Regions from separate parts of the Homo sapiens genome. Here region 1 is linked to region 2. Evidence: promoter capture Hi-C in human tissues and cell types (Jung and others, 2019). All regions are on one chromosome and are shown on one strand. The core of a region is centred on a gene start or on the middle of the fragment in contact, and the rest is flanking DNA. Distances in the headings are between cores, read along the strand shown.

Region 1 (2,700 bases), core at 154-2,653, 310 kb after region 2:
CTACTCTACCACTAAAAGCCACAAAAATTTTAAATAAAATGTGAGAGAACTTCAAAGAATTCATGGAAATCATGGAAAAATGGAATTAAAAGGTTAAAATATAAAATATTGTAACTCTATTTGGTGAAGGGGAAATTAAGAAATAAAAGCTTAAATATGTGGTTTTTTGTTTGTTTGTTTTTTTGAGATGGAGTCCCGCTGTTGCCCAGGCTGGAGTGCAGTGGTGAGATCTCAGCTCACCGCAACCTCCACCTCCTGGGTTCAAGTGATTATCCTGCTTCAGCCTACTGAGTAGCTGGGATTACAGGCACGCACCACCATACCCAGCTAATTTTTGTATTTTTAGTAGAGATGGGTTTTCGCCATGTTGGCCAGGCTGGTCTTGAACTCCTAACCTCAGGTGGTCCACCTGCCTTGGCCTCCCGAAGTGCTGAGATGACAGGTGTGAGCCAGTGCACCTGGCCATATATACACATATATGTGTGTGTGTATATATATATATATATATACGTGCACACACACACATATATGTATGTCTATATACATATATACACACATACATATATATGTGCATATATAAATATGTGTGTGTGTGTGTGTGTGTGTGTGTGTGTATATATATATATATATATTTTTTTTTAACTAGCTGGCCATGGTGGCACATGCCTGTAGTTCCAGTGATTCAAGAGGCTGAGGCAGGAGGATCGCTTGAGCCCCAGAGTTGGAGGCTGCAGTTGTACCACTGCACTCCAACCTGGGCAACAAAGCAAGACCCTATCTCTTAAAAAAAAAAAAAAAAAAGGTAGAGACAGAAATAGATAGCCTAAGGAACCAGGATGGTGGAAGGGAGACTATAAAAATTTGAAAGAGTTTAGTTCTAAGTCAAGAAGGATAAGAACAGGAAGGCCAAGGATGGGGTTGAAGCTCCAGAGCAGTGCTGTCAGGTAGAACGTTCTGCAGAGAAGGAAATTTCTCTGTCTGCACTGTCCAATATGACAGTGTCCAATAGCCACTGGACATATGTGGTTATTGAACATCGGTGATGTGGCTAGTATGGCTGAGGAACTGAATTCATAACTTTTTATTTTATTTTAGAGATGGAGTTTTGCTCTGTCACCCAGGCTGGAGTGCAGTGATGTGATCTCGGCTCACTGCAACCTCTGCCTCCTGGGTTCAAGCGATTCTCCTGCCTCAACCTCCCGAGTAGCTGGGATTGCAGACATGTGCCATCACGCCCAGCTAATTTTTGTATTTTTAGTAGAGATGGGGTTTCACCATGTTGGCCAGGCTGGTCTCAAACTCCTGGCCTCAAGTGATCCACCCATCTCGGCCTCCCGAAGCACTGGAATTACAGGTGTGAACCACCACATCTGGCCAATAACTATTTTAATTAACGAAAGTTAAATAGCCACGTCTAACTGGCAGCTGCGGTTTGGAACAGTGCAATTCTAGAGAATCCAAAGGGAGGGCCTCCACAAGACAGGTTCCTAAATCCAGACCGAGGACAAGAAGCAGGGCACTGTTCCCTGGACACTCACCAGCCACTATGAACAGAAAGATGCCGAAGCCCAGCACGTAGTAAGGCCACAGCACGGAGAACTGCAGGGGGCCGAGCTTCATCCTCAGAGCCTTGATCTCCAGGGCATGCAGCACCAAAGCCAGGAAGGCACAGGCCCCTGGAGGGTCACAGGGAGACACCCTCGGTCTCCTCCCATGCTACCCGCCTTCCCTCCAAACTTCACCCCCTGTGGCTCCTGCCTGGAGGCTCCTTCATCCTTGCCCCCTCTCTGAAACAAAACTCCTACCCAGATGCCTGTCCCTCCCTCCTTTCTGACTCATCTTCAAAGCCCATGTGCTTTACCTTCCAGGGAACCATCATCAGAACTCCCTTTCCTAGCACCCTCTGCATCTGCCCTTAGCTCACCTCTGCACCTTAGCAGAGGGTGCAACACTTTGGATTAAATGCAATCCCATTTTCCTACTGCTCTACCTCCACCATTTGCCTAGGAGCCTCTCAGGGTGGAGCCTGGGTCACCCTTTATAAATGTCAAAAGGGGCCAGGTGCAGTGGTTCATGCCTGTAATCTCAGCAATTGGGAGGCTGAGGCAGGAGGACCGCTTGACACCAGGAGTTCAAGGCCAGCCTGGGCAACATAGCGAGATCCCCATCTCTACCAAAAAAAAAAATGTTTAAATTAGCCAGGAATGGTGGCACATGCCTAGAGTCCCATCTACTTGGGAGGCTGAGGTGGGAGGATCACTTTAGCCTGGGAGGTTAAGGCTGCAGTGAGCTATGATAGCACCACTGCACTCCAGCCTGGGTAACAGAGTGAGACCCTGTCCCTAAAAAGAAAAATTATGCCTCTTTTGACATCACAGAGACTGAGCACCCCTCTTTCTCTGGACTCCTCCCCAGGCCCTAGCGAAGGTCAGGGATCACCTAGCTGTTCCACACCTGTGAAGAAGCTGATGCAGGCTAACACAAAGTTTTGCTTCCAGGTCCTCGGGAAGAACTCGGATGCAAAGGGCATCATGATGAAGGTGGTGACGAAAGCCAAGAAAACTGCAGAGAGCAGGAAAACCCGGCCGAGGATGATGTAAACTGCAGGGGAGGGAGAAGTGGGGCTGAAGCTGGGAACCCTGACCCGGAAAGGTCAGAGTCCCTCAGAGCCTGGGCAGGGCTGGCCCCCGGAGCCTCCAC
Region 2 (2,700 bases), core at 66-2,565:
ATTAAAGAACCAGATCCCTTCTCCATAGAGTATTCCAATTTGCAAAGAAAATCCATTCATTAGTTGTCCAATTTAAATGTTTTAGAAATATTCAGTGGAACTTTCATCAATAACCCCCAAACAGATACCTCAAGAACCCCTTTTTCTAATCATTTAATCATACTACTTACTGAGAAAAATTATTATAGGAAAGGCAGTATTTGATATTGGGACATAAAAAGAATGAAAAATCTGTTAAATAAGCAAAAGCCCATTAGCCTGAGGCTGTCTTGGTACTTGAGTTCCCATATAACAAAATACAACCTGACTTAGTATGTAAACGAACTGAAGCCTAACTTACTTTATTTTTTATAACAGCTGGGTTTCAGCCAATCACGGCCGAGCTTCAGCAAATAACAGACAGCCAACTGATCAGACCATGCCCCAATAAGGCAAATGCCTCATCATATCATTGTCAAATAAGGCAGACACCTAGATGTTAGCTAATGAGGTGATTTCTCTACTTTGCTTCCTATAAAAGCTAGCAGGTCATACTGCTGGACAGAGCTCTCTGAACCTCTTTTGGTTCTGAGTGCTGCCCAATTCATGAACTGTTCTTTGTGCAAATAGCTTCTATTAAATTTGTCAGTCCAGAGTTTTTTTTGTTTTAAACAAATATTCACAAGAAAAGGAAGAAAGTGGGAAGAATAAAAAGCAAAGCACCTCAGAAACACAAGATCGAAAATCCACTTAAGGGATATAGATAATTCCCTGAAACAGGTGAGCATATTATTTGTTGAAAGCCTCCATGGATGTTCTTTGGGATAGCAAAATGGTTGCTACTTTTCAAATTGGATACCAAAAAGGCAATGTATCTGCATCTCAGAATCCAAATCATCCCCACGTTAGCCAAACTCCAGGCCTACCAACACAGATCCTTCAAGTCTTCCTGGCCTTCCAGGCCCCTAGGCTGCAGCTCGCCCAGAACTCCTGGGACTCTAAAACTTAAATCGGTCTAACCAGCAGGCGAACACAGACCTGAACCCTCAAACTTGGAAAGAAAGATCATAGGCACCTCCCCGGTTGGCTCCCCCAGGGACCACAACGTCCGGCTCTAACGCCTTGCCCAAGTCCTCTGTAGCTTTCCACAGGCATTTCTGGGTCTCTATAGCTGTTTGGAGGAGCCACTCACCGGTCCCGTCCTGCCCCGCGCCTAGGCCTGAACCAACCCCCTCGCGGTTCCGGCGCGGATACCCAGCAGCTTCCGGTCTTGCGCGCTCAGGCCGGGCAACGTCCGTGCGTTCTTTTTGGGTCCTGAACCCCGGAAGAGAAACTGCGTTGTACCCTTTTACGTGAGGCGGTGACGGCGGTTCGGAAGTCGTCTGGCCTCCCCGCGGCCGCTCGCAGCTTGCTGGCCTCTCCCGCGCCTCACGTCGGACTCCGTCTCCGCGGCAGGGAAGCAGCATGGAAGCTGAGGACATCCAGGAGGAGTTGACCTGCCCCATCTGCCTGGACTATTTCCAGGACCCGGTGTCCATCGAGTGCGGCCACAACTTCTGCCGCGGCTGCCTGCACCGCAACTGGGCGCCGGGCGGCGGCCCGTTCCCCTGCCCCGAATGTCGGCACCCATCGGCGCCCGCCGCGCTGCGACCCAACTGGGCCCTGGCCAGGCTGACTGAGAAGACGCAGCGCCGGCGCCTGGGCCCCGTGCCCCCGGGCCTGTGCGGCCGCCACTGGGAGCCGCTGCGGCTCTTCTGCGAGGACGACCAGCGGCCAGTGTGCCTGGTGTGCAGGGAGTCCCAGGAGCACCAGACTCACGCCATGGCACCCATCGACGAGGCCTTCGAGAGCTACCGGGTGAGCTGGCCGTCGCGGTGACTATGACGGGGCTGTCAGTGTTGCCCGATAAAGTTTACTTAATGCTCCTAAAAGAGCCACGAAGTGGCTGTCATTCCTACTGGAAGCATGAAAAGCCCCTGAAACTCAAAGAAGTTAAGCAAAACACGAATTTCAGAGCTAGGGTTAAAACTGGAATGAGAGGAGGGGAGGTGCAAACCTCAGCAATCATTGTGCAGAATTTTCAATAAACTGGCCCTTGGGGAGCTCATAATAAAGAAAAACATACTGAGAGGGTGTGTGCCGCTGCTGTCCAATAGAAACCACATATGTAATTTAAAATCTTTCTGGTAAGATAAGGAAACGAGGTGACGTTAATTGTAATAATATATTTTATTTAATCTGATTACCCCAAATATTCAAAGCTGAGATGAAAATTATCAATGAGATTTTTTTTTTTTTTCTGAGATGGAGTCTCACTTTATTGCCCAGGCTGGAGCACAGTGGCGTGATCTTGGCTCACTGCAACCTCCTCCTCCGGGGTTCAAGCAGTTCTCCTGCCTCAGCCTCCCGAGTAGCTGGGATTACAGGCACACGCCACCACACCCGGTTAATTTTTGTTTTTTAGTATAGAGGGGTTTCACCATCTTGGCCAGGCTGGTCTCGAACTGCTGACCTCAAGTGATCTGCCCCGCTTGGCCTCCCATAGTGCTGGGATTAAGGTGTGAGTCACCACGCCCGGCCTCAATGAGATATTTTATACTCCTTTTTCATAATAGGTCTGAAATTGGTGTGTATTTTACATTTACAACACATAGCAGTTTGGAATATCCACGTTTCAGGTGCTTGTATGGCTAAATGGATACTGTATTGGACAGTGCCTGT

Evidence for each region. The method cuts DNA at HindIII sites, captures the fragments that hold promoters and counts their contacts. A contact is called where the count stands out against the background at its distance.
Region 1: a contact is called between a fragment that was not itself captured here and the fragment with the promoter of TRIM4 in region 2, in 1 of the 25 tissues and cell types used here (H1 embryonic stem cells).

Annotation. Positions count from the first base shown.
Region 1 is chr7:99,606,649-99,609,348 of GRCh38, reverse strand. It overlaps TMEM225B (transmembrane protein 225B), which reads right to left. Exons shown (of 6, transcript NM_001195541.3): 4 at 2,455-2,601; 5 at 1,539-1,676. Among named protein-coding and RNA genes, the nearest start is that of ZSCAN25, 8.9 kb to the left of the region's middle. The HindIII fragment of the contact is 8,768 bases long and covers 1-2,700 here.
Region 2 is chr7:99,918,145-99,920,844 of GRCh38, reverse strand. It overlaps TRIM4 (tripartite motif containing 4), which reads left to right and starts at 1,315. Exons shown (of 6, transcript NM_033091.3): 1 at 1,315-1,836. The coding sequence starts at 1,444. LOC101927610 (a long non-coding RNA gene) reads right to left here and starts at 1,242. Exons shown (of 2, transcript XR_001745296.3): 1 at 1,018-1,242. RefSeq lists enhancers at 944-1,053, 1,294-1,373, 1,404-1,453 and a silencer at 1,584-1,743. The HindIII fragment of the contact is 5,230 bases long and covers 1-2,700 here.